Linked DNA regions of Homo sapiens: all the other regions are linked to region 2. The links are contacts of gene promoters, found by promoter capture Hi-C in blood cells and fetal thymus (Javierre and others, 2016). All regions are on one chromosome and are shown on one strand. The core of a region is centred on a gene start or on the middle of the fragment in contact, and the rest is flanking DNA. Distances in the headings are between cores, read along the strand shown. Region 1 overlaps ANO2 (anoctamin 2). Region 2 holds the start of NTF3 (neurotrophin 3). Region 3 overlaps LOC105369617 (a long non-coding RNA gene).

Evidence for each region. Contacts are between HindIII fragments. The CHiCAGO score rates a contact against its expected background, and 5 or more counts as called.
Region 1: a contact is called between a fragment that was not itself captured here and the fragment with the promoter of NTF3 in region 2, in 1 of 17 cell types (megakaryocytes). The highest score is 5.6, in megakaryocytes.
Region 3: a fragment that was not itself captured here is called in contact with the fragment with the promoter of NTF3 in region 2 in 1 of 17 cell types (M1 macrophages); the score reaches 5.4 in M1 macrophages.

What each region holds. Positions count from the first base shown.
Region 1 is chr12:5,862,431-5,866,146 of GRCh38, reverse strand. The region is part of intron 3 of ANO2 (anoctamin 2); the gene reads left to right. Among named protein-coding and RNA genes, the nearest start is that of ANO2, 81 kb to the left of the region's middle. The HindIII fragment of the contact is 5,752 bases long and covers 1-3,716 here.
Region 2 is chr12:5,430,127-5,433,541 of GRCh38, reverse strand. NTF3 (neurotrophin 3) reads right to left here and starts at 1,434. Exons shown (of 2, transcript NM_001102654.2): 1 at 1,200-1,434. The coding sequence starts at 1,217. RefSeq lists an enhancer at 92-617. The HindIII fragment of the contact is 3,984 bases long and covers 882-3,415 here.
Region 3 is chr12:5,153,823-5,157,202 of GRCh38, reverse strand. The region is part of intron 1 of LOC105369617 (a long non-coding RNA gene); the gene reads right to left. Among named protein-coding and RNA genes, the nearest start is that of LINC02443, 88 kb to the left of the region's middle. The HindIII fragment of the contact is 1,221 bases long and covers 1,258-2,478 here.

The sequences.
Region 1 (3,716 bases), core at 561-3,060, 430 kb before region 2:
GACCACATTACAAGCATATTCCAGAAGCAGTCGTTGTGGCAGAGGGTTGGATATGCTGATTGGTTCAAACTAATTGGGCATAGGCTTGGATTTGGGATGGGATCAATTCTGCTAAAAACATATGGCTGAGCTCCAGTAGGGGTGTTTCTCTCAGAGCAAAACTTGGCAACTATTGGTGAGTGAAAGGGGAGATGACAAACAAATGATCGTTCATTGTCGTCCTGTCCCTTTGGACGTTAATTGCCCTGGTCGTGATCTGTCCCAGGTATTAGATATCATTTATCTGGTTTCCAAAGAGAATGAAAATGGTGTGACTGCATGATGGTATGGTGGCATGATGGTGTGAATGAATGATTGTGTGAATGCATGATGGTGTGAATGCATGATGGTGTGATTGCATGATGGTGTGAATGCATAATGGTGTGATGGCCTGATGATATGGTGGCATAATGCTGTGGTGGCATGATAGTGTGAATGCACGATAGCGTGAATGCATGATGGTGTGATGGTATGATGGTGTGATGGCATGATGGTGTGGTGGCATGATGGTGTGGTGGCATGATGGTATGAATGCATGATGGTGTGAATTCTTGATGGTATGAATGCATGATGGTGTGAATGTATGATGGTGTGATGGCATGCTGGTGTAAATGTATGATGGTGTGAATGCATGATGGTGTGATGAAATGGTAGTGTGGTGGCATGATGGTGTGAATTCTTGATGGTATGAATTCATGATGGTGTGAATGCATGGTGATGTGATGGCATGATGGTTTGAATGCATGATGGTGTCATGGCATGATGGTGTGGTGGCATGATGGTGTGAATGCATGGTGATGTGATGGCATGATGGTGTGATGGCATGATGGCTTAGATTTCTTTCATATGCCCTAACTCTTAGCACATTGCCAAGCACACAGTCGTTGCCCAATAAATACTTGTTGAATTGAACTTTGTTAGGATGATTGAATCATAGGAAAATAGTGTAAAGATTCTTTAAGGGAGAGATGAGTCACTGCTAAGAGAAGGCAGGGGCATATCCTTGTGGGGGAGGGGAGTTAATTACTGATAACATAAAGGGTTTAGGGAGGTGTCTTGAGGTTGGAAGAAAAGTAGCAAAATCAAGGAATCATGCAAATTTTAAGTCAGGAGAGACATTAGAGATAATGAAGAGATAGGGCTTTCAGAGTTAATATGACCAGCTTTTAAATGCCTGGGAATGCTTCTCTCTGAGTGGGATATTTTTCACATGGGCCAAATAAATGAAAGACAGGAAGGGGATACTGGGCATTCTTGCTCAAAGGTTTGATGGCTATTAAGTGTAGTGGTGCTCACAGGTTGATCCTGTGATTTGCTTGTCTAGCCTGGGACATTTTTGAGAATGCTAAAATCCTAAACTTGATGGGATGATGAGGCAAGGGGAATAAACAGAGACTGTTCCAGGCCAGCCAGGACCTACTGATCATCTGTGGTCTGAGTATTTACTAATGACCAGCTAGGGCACCCCTTTGCCCATTGCTCTCTTGCCTTCCATTCCTCAGGCACTGAAGTGCTCTCCGTGTCCTGGTGGGGGTGAGGGAGAGGCACACCCATTGCTGAGAGTTAGCATCCACAGCATCTGATTCCACTTGCAGGATGGCGACTGTCCAGAACAATTTCACTGTGATGAATAGGAAACAGCAGCATTTTCCTTGGGTCTTTCCTCACAGTTCATCCAGGATCCCCTGTTTGGGCTGGTTCTGTGTGCTGGAAGCCCAGGCGCCAGCCTACTGGCCTCCCTGAGTTTTGGGAGAGGCCCTGTTCTTTCTGCCAACATCTTTGGGGCTTATGGATTGTCATTCTCTCATTTTTGGTAGAAATGTTGCATCTGGCTACTTTCAGCCTGTTATCTTTGAGCATCATAAACTCCCAAGAGAAATGTTCACTTTTATCTTCATCCTCACTTGGTGGTGTTCAGTTACATGCCAGGGGCTACTGCCTCGGTGGGCTCAGCTATGATTTTTTTTATGTGGGATCCAAGAAACATGGTGGGATTCCCACAGGGGTCAAGGACATGTGTTTTTTTGGCCCTAGGAACATGGGTATGCCCTGTGCTTTGAGTACCAAGGCAGAGATTTCACAGTGCCTATCCCTGCACTTGCTCTTTAAAAAATCCTTTTGTAGACACTTCATAGTTTACAAAATACCTTCATATGTACAACCTTATTTGATTCTGAGATACCATGAAATCATTATTCACTTTTGAATATTTATTATTAATTAAAAGCTAACGAATATATAACATATTGTTAAGTAAATAATGTTTATTTAACATAAAACATTATAATTAAAAATAATGATTTTTTAAAACAAAAAAAGTTACAAGAAGTGTTGCATTGTTTTACATTTTTGCATATCTTTTCCCTCTAGCCTTTTTGAGGTATAACTGATGTATAATAAACTGCACATATTTAAAGTATCCAATCTGTTGAGTTTTGACATGTGTTCAAAACCATCACTGTGAAACCATCACTGTCTTGTAATCAAGAAAATGAACATATCTACCACCCCCAAACATTTCCACAGGTCCTTTTGTAAAGTCTATCCTTCTCTCCTCCAAGTGGTATTATTATTAATTATTACAATTATTTAACATTGCCTGTCAATCCGAGAGAGCTTTGGTGGCTTGTTGGAAATGGTGCAGCTGGTAAGTGACAGAGCTGGGGCCCAAGGCCTGGTCCTCAGGCTCCAGAACCCATGGCCTTCCCGGGGCCTATCTTACATGGTGAGGATTATTCCCTATTTCTTCCACCTGTAGGATTTCTGAAGTAGAATAACACCTAGAGAAGCCTGAGTCACACTCTGTTGCTGACTCCCCATAGGTTAGGTCTTTCAAGGTGCCGTGCTGCCTTTGGGGTCCTCTGCAGCTCAGGGGTTGAGTGGGGAAGAGGTTCTCTCACCCTTGATATGTTGGAGGGTGTATTAGTCTGTTCTCACGCTGCTAAAAAAGACATACCAGAGACTGGGTAATTTATAAAGAAAAAGAGGTTTAATGGACTCACAGTTCCACGTGGGTGGGAAGGCCTCCCAATCACGGTGGAAGGTGAAAGGCATGTGTTTACATGGCAGCAGACAAGAGAGAATTGAGAACCAAATGAAAGGGGTTTCCCCTCACCGTCTCTACTAAAAAAAAGAAAAAAATACAAAAAATTAGCTGGGTGTGGTGGTGGGTGCCTGTAATCCCAGCTACTCAGGAGGCTGAGGCTGGAGGATTGCTTGAACCTGGGAGGTGGAGGTTGCAGTGAGCCAAGATTGCGCCATTGCACTCCAGCCTGGGTAACAAGAGCGAAATTTTGTCTCAAAAAAAGAAAGAAAGAAAGAAAGAGGTTTTCCCTTATAAAACCATCAGATCTTGTGAGCTTATTCACTACCACGAGAACAGTATGGGGGAAACCGCCCCCATGATTCAGTTACCTCCCACCAGGTCCCTCCCGCAACATGTGGGAATTATGGGAGCTACAATTCAAGATGAGATTTGGGCAGGGACAGAGTCAGACCCTATCAGAGGGTTGGACTCCTCAGTCTCCCTGGGCTCCCCTCACTGCTTCCTCTTCACTTGGGCTTTGAGGAGTTGTTCCTGGGCTGCCTCTGGTTGGAGTGCAATGATGTGTGATACACGGAGTGGAGACTGTGGTGATAGGTCCAGAGATCACCCGTTCTGCGTGTCTGTCCAGGTT
Region 2 (3,415 bases), core at 185-2,684:
AGAAGCAGCGCCTCCTGGACGCGCACCCACTCCCGCGGAGAGCAACAAGCAGAATCCTACTCCCCCATCCCATGCCCTCGGCCCTCGCCCCTCCTGTCCCTAACCTTCAACTCCCAAGCGTCCCAAATTTCATCAGGAGCATCCACCACTGAGTAAAGCTCTGGGGCAATGGGACAGTTCGGTCCGTCGTGGGACCTTTAAACTCCGACCTGGCTGGCTGCGCGGGTGCCCAGGTCTCCCGGCCTCCCACGCCACCGCTCAAAGTCCGAGAACAGGCTGGACGATACCGCAAGGAGATCCCCTGGGATGGCCGGGCCCGGGTGCCCGCCGCTCCCCGGAGGGGTCCCAGATGTGCGGGCTGCGTACGGAGCTCCAACATCTGCGCAAAGGCCCAGGGTGGGGTGGCCACCGGGTGGGCGCTGGCCAAGAGGAGCCCGGGGCGCGAGGTCTTTTCTGAAAAAACCCTTTCGGGGAACTCCAACGCAGGTACGCGGCGCGTGGCAGTGAGTCCCAACTCCCAAAACTGGAACGCGAGGTTCCGGGTCCTGAGCTGCGCGTCCCCTCCCCCCAGCCCACGCCCGGGCCAGAGTGGTGCTGGGGCGAGCTGAGAATCAGGCTCAGCGGCCGGCAGAGTGCAGGGCGTGTGCAGGGGAGCTGCCGCGGCACCTCCCCGCCCGGAGTTCTGTCTGCCACCCCCTTTTGTTATAGGATGCGCTAGGAGCTTTCTCGGAGGAGCAGGCGGGTCGGTTGGGAGTGGTGGGTGGTTGATTCTGTTGAATCTCTTTCCTGCTCTTTCGTCGTCCCCATTTCCCCTCTTCTGCCCCCACCCTTTCCAATCCAGGTCCCTTAAACCTGATCACTTTCCCAGATTGAGGGAAGCTTCTTGGGCAGCCGAGGGACAAGAGGGGAGGAGGTGGAGAAGGGTGTCCGTGTCTGTGTGTGTGTGTGTGTGTGTGTGTGTGTGTGTGTGTGTGTGTGTGTGTGTAGCGGGGTGGCTGCGGTTGCGCTTCGGCCTGAGCAGATCCCAGCGCAAACTTTGGGGAAGACACAAGCCCGGGAAAGTGAGTGAGCGCGGCGCGATGGGGGTGGGGCGGGATGCGGATCTGGGGCCCCCCGCACCAGTCCACTGGAAAATCCCTCCCCACGTGGACCCCCATCCCCAAACCTGCCCACCCAAGGTGCCCGCCGCCTCCCCTTACCGTGGCAAAAGTAACCATGGCATCCGTGTGGCCGTTTCCAGGGACGTCGACATGAAGAGAAAGGTGGACGCGAGCTCGGTCATTCAAAGTCTCCCCCACCCCGCCGCAGCCACTACCCAGCAGGGGAAAAAGGAGAGGAAGAAAGAAAGGAGAGAGAAGAAAGTAGTTGCGCCGGGCTGCGTCGCGGGGCGGTGCGCGGAGCTGTTCGGAAGGGAGAGGAGCTTCAACTCTGAGTCCCGTGAACAGAATCTGCGCGGTTATAACCAGCCAACCCGGCCAGATGGCTCCGCGCTCAGCGCCTTAACCCCTTCCGCGCCGCGCCGCCCTCCCCCGCCGGCCCGCGCCGCGCCGCGCGCGCCCGCGCCCCAGAGCCCCCCCCCCGCCCTCACTTCGGGACCCGTGGCGGGGAAGGGGTCATTTCTCCTGGCCCCTCTTGAAAAACAAAACCAAACCAAACAACAACAGCAACAAAAACTTCCAAATCTGTAGTATTCTTCAGTAACCCCCACCCTTGAGTTCCCTTTTAGAGATCCAGGAAAAAACGAAACGTTAAATGTATCGTAACAGGTTACATGTTAGTGTCTTCAGCCTTTCTTAGTGGTTCTTTTTCTTGAAATTTTTCTTTTTGATCTTTTTTCTTTCAAGATTTTCTTTACAAGGCATCAGGGCCTTTTCCTGCCTTTTTCCTCAGGAGGATCAGGTCTGAGGCGTAAACTCCTCCTCCAAACCTTAGACCCTTCCAGCTCCAGATCTCTCCCCACCCCCTACCAAGCCCACCCGCCACTCCTCCCCCCACCCCACAGCACGAACACGCCCAAGGACAATCGCTCCCCGGCGAACTCCCCGCTCCCGGGGACCCGCACCCAGGACGCTGTGTCGGCGGTCAAGGGAGGTCAAGGTAGAGGGGCGTGGGGGCGGGTGGTCCGAGGGACTAGGGAGGGGCTGTGTGTGCGCGCGCGTGTTTGCGGGAGCTTGAGTGTGGAAGGGAGAGGGAGATGGATCGCAGCCTCCCATTTCACCCATCCTCCAACTTCTAAACCCCTTCCTTCCAAACTAGGATGGGGCCCTGCAGCTAATCACTCGCCCAGCACCCACCAGTCTGCACGCGGGGACAGCGCGAGAAGCAGGAAAGGCGAGCAACAAACAAACCTGTTCGTGGCGCCCCGAAAGTAATGACGCTCACTTCCCCACCGGTGGATACATTCGAGGAGAGGATAGGGGGAGGGGGTCAAAATCTCTTATTTGGAGATAATTTTAGCTGCCCGTTAGACCTCACTTGCTCCGAGCCGTTCTCTCTAAATTTACCAAGTTAAGTCATCTTGATTTCGCCCATTTGCCATCGAGAGAAGGGGGAAAAATACCACTTAGTGATCAACGAGAAATCGAGAGCCCGGAAGCAGAGTTTTGCCCACTTGCCCGCTTCCCGAGTCCTTGCGTGGTGGACCTCCGCTCCAAGCCCCTCATCCCTTCCTCCCTGCCACTTCAGCCGCTCCTCACATCATCTCCTGCCAGGACCTTTTGACTCACGCGCGACTGGGAAGGGCAGCGAGTATCCCGTTTCCTCCCTGCCCTGTCGTTCGAGGTGTCTAATAAGCAAGCCGTTCCGCGTTTCGGTTAGGGCCCAGGTTCAAAAAATCCAAATACCTTGAAATTGCTTGAGAATTTGGTTAAACATCGGAACTGCACCCACCAGTTCAGGACCAACCGGCCGCAGAGAGTAGCTGGGGGGTTGGATGGGGAGGTGGGAAGGGAGGGGGGAGTCTGGGGGCTGCGTACTAGATAGATTGTACCTGCCTCATCATTATCCTGGCTGATGGGGGTTGCCACATCGAAAACCGCCAGAAGCGCCCACCGAGGCCCAGGGGCGTCACCTCCTGCGGTCCCTCGCAAGGGTAGGGTAGTCCTTCAGTGGCTCCCCTCGTGCCAAAATATCGACGTCTTCCTCAGGGCCAGAAGAGGCTGCCGAGTCGTTCCCTCCACCCAGCCACACAGCACCATGAAGGTTTGGATTGGGCGTGCTCTGTCGGGTTCTGCTTTTCTCCCTCTCATCTGGCCCGCCTCCCTGCCCTCCCCCACTTCCCGCACTTGCCCCCCTCCTCCAGCTTCTCGCCCTGGTCAAAGGAGGGATTCAGGCCCCAGTTTCAGATCCACTGGCAGAGTTCTTTTCTCAAGCTCCAGGTCCTCTGGGAACCTGAAGATTGCAAGGAAAGAGGTGG
Region 3 (3,380 bases), core at 619-3,118, 280 kb after region 2:
AGCTCAGAGCTGGGCTTGCCGGTAAATACAGGGAAGATCCCAGTGGGATGGCCTTCAGATGGCCCACCAGGGACCACGGGCAGTAGGGCCAGGAGCCCCCAGCTTTGCAGGCAGTGTTCACAGTGGTGGAACAAGAATCCCACCTTCGGGGCACATGGGACGGAGGTCACAACAGCCAGACCTTGTGTGTAACCCATGACCCAAGCAACCACAGAACAGCCAGAGGTGGCTCAGTCTGGCCCAGGCCATTCTATATCACTTGGAAATATTTCACTGTTATTTCAATCTGAACAGTCTCCCCACCACTGCACCCCTTACCCCAAATTACCAAAGGCATTTGGGCAAACTGGATGTAGAAGGGGGAGAAGTAGGTTCAACTTTTGATTTTTACCATTCATGTTTTGTGTCACACTGGGCTAAGTCCCCTTGGCTTACTACTGCATTTCCTCATTTGTACAGTGAGATCACACCCCAACGGTTTGCGAGCCAACAGGTAGGTTCTGGGAGGCACAGACAACCTCAGGCATTTTCAGTGCCCTGGCCTCATTCGCTTTACTTGTTGTGTAGTTGGCAGTGGGTGACCCTGACCCCTGAGGTCTCAGCTCACAGAGCCCATGCTGGGCATGGGTTGAGGCAGCCCCACCTGCCTGCACCCAACAGTTTTCTTTGTCGTCTTTTGGCCTTTTTGAAAGGTACCTGCTTCCTTGGCCCCATTGCCTGGGCTGTCCCTACAGGCTTCCTGTGATGCTCCCTAACCCTCCAAGACAATGATGTAGAGCAAGGAGGAGCCACAGCGGAGTGAAAACTGCAGATCTGCCAGCCTGTGTTCTCCCTCTGGCCTGAGGGGTGTTGTAGAGGCAGAGGTGGAATCTGCTGGAGATGGTCCTGCAGAGTCTCTGTAGTTTGTGTGTGATTCTGTTTCACCTGCCTTTTCTGAGCCCTCTCCTCCCCTCACCAGGCCTCAGGAATTGCTGTGTGGGGCCTCAGGGAGGAGAGTGGGCTACAAGGAGAATTTGGCAACTGGTAAATCTGTCTTCGAGGATCCCACAAGCAGCAGCGTGGGTGCTGTCCACCTGGCCAGCCTCCCACCACCGCAGGCTTCCGGGATGCTTGTTCAGCCCACATCCAGGAGTGAGAGCCAACCCTCCCGCCGGCCGCTGTCAGTGCGAACCGGACAAGGGCAAGAGGGGAAGGAGGAAGACCAGGGGAAATAGGGAGAAGGAAGTTCTGCAAAAATCCTACCTCCTCCACAAAGCTTCCCTGCTGCATTGAGCTTCTGGCCTCACTCCCTCCTCAGGCTCCCAGAATGTTCCTGGGACCCCCATCATCTTGTATGTGGCATGTATGTCCTTGCTGTCCTTTAATATAAAGGAACCCTGTCTCAACCACACAAAGCCACTGTAAGTGCAGGTGCAAACACCTAGCACAGTGCCAGGTGCTTAGGAACAATTTGCTGACGGTTCTTTCCTTGTGGTGATAATACAGAAGAGGGGAGGTGGTGAAAGGATGGACAACTCAGGACTGGGCAGACTTGATTTCACCTGGACTCCTGAGCCTCAGACCACATGCAGAGCGATTGTTTGCTATTCCCATGAGCAGGGAATCCTGTTCATTTCCATCATCACTGAGAATGATGTGTGTCACTGTGGCATACGGGGGTGTGGATAAAGGGGAGGTGGAGGATATCTAGTGTACAGAAAATCACTTAGCTATCTCTTGACCCCAAAATGTCCTTAATCACTCTCCCTTACCCTACTTCCCTCTCAAGGATGTTCTCAACCAGAATATTGTGAGAAATTTCACCATCTGACAGAAAAATTTGTTCCTCCGTAGGAAACATTGTCCATATTTTTTGAAATGTGTAAGGACTATTGTGTCTACCTTCGGCATCTGTGCAGCCTAACCCTTGAGAAGGGAGAACAGCAAGGCAAAGAGCCCACCATCCTTCTGAAGACACCATGATCCAAGGCAGAGACCCCAAAGTGAAGAACATGTACCATGGGTATCCAGAGAAAACTGTGCTGGTGCATGGAGGAGCACTGGTGGTTTTTAGCAGGGATGTTCCATTTCGATTCTCCTCCTTCCCTTCAAGGAGAATGTGTCGGTCGGGTGCCAGGATCTTGTTAACACTTTTCAAACTCTTAGCTCCTACTGTAATCCCCCAAATAGGTCTTGACACAAGAACCCTCAACAGACTACAGTACCCAGCTCATTCCACAATGTCATTTTCCATTAATCACATTTGCCTTTTGGTCTCCAATATTTAAGGCAAGTAATGCTGCTTTTCCATAGGCATTAGTGACATAGTTTCCTTTTAAAATAACTGCATTTAAGTAAAAAATGGATCTGGCTAAAGAAAAAGTATTAAGTAATAGCACAGGTGTTTACAGATATGCCAAAAATAATGAAAATTCTGTGCTCATGACCAGATGTTGGGAATCAATGGGATGGTTCTCAGGGGTAAGAAGTAAGAAAGCTTTTTATCCCCACCCTGACACTCTTTAATGTGTGGTCTGTGGCAAGCCACTCTCCCTCTTTTCATGACTGTTTCCCTATATGTAAAATGAGGAGAACTGTACTCCAAAGGCTTTTAAAGTATATTAGTGTATTGCAATTCTCCAATTCTAGGATTTTGTGTGTGGGAAGAAGAGAGCATGGAAAAAATTTCAGAATACTAAAGAGAGGTGGAATTCTTCTGCTTGTCATCTTTGAAGCCAGCACAGAAGAGCTTTCTCTTCAGTTTCACTACAGACTGAGACTGAGAAGCAATGCCAGTCTGCTAACAGTTCTGCCTGTTACCCTCTGTCACGCCCTCGCTGACCCTCAGAGACAGAGCAAGCTGCAGCTCCCAGCAGCTGCAGACACAGCAGCTCCTTAGTTCTGCAGATGCACAGCCAGGAGAGGGCTCTGCCGGGTCTGAAACCCCCTTGCTAATCACCTCATCCTGAAATCCGAGGCCCTGGGAATGGCCTGTTCATGAAGGGCTTGGGCCTGGTCTAACAGCCAGAAAATTCCCTGGAGGATCCTTATCAGCCACTGCGTGTCTCCCCACTGTTACAGGTGAAATGAGAAGCTTGGGGAAGGAGCAGCTCCCTTTTCACAGGCCTCATTCGAGTTGGGGGTAAATAGGGGAGGCAGAAGCAAGCCCCCCATTCCCAAGCCCAGGGAAGGAGGACACTTGGCTTTGTTCCCCCTTCAACATTACAGACTTTTTTTAAAAAAAAAGAAAGAGAAGACGTTTGATCTTGGATGAACTTTTCTAATCGTCCTTGAAATTGATTGAGCAAAATGCCTGATTCTGAGCACTCAGAAGTGGGAAAACCTCTAATATGACACTGGGGAAAATCAAGTGAGGGGAGACAAGAAAGGGGCTTTGAAGG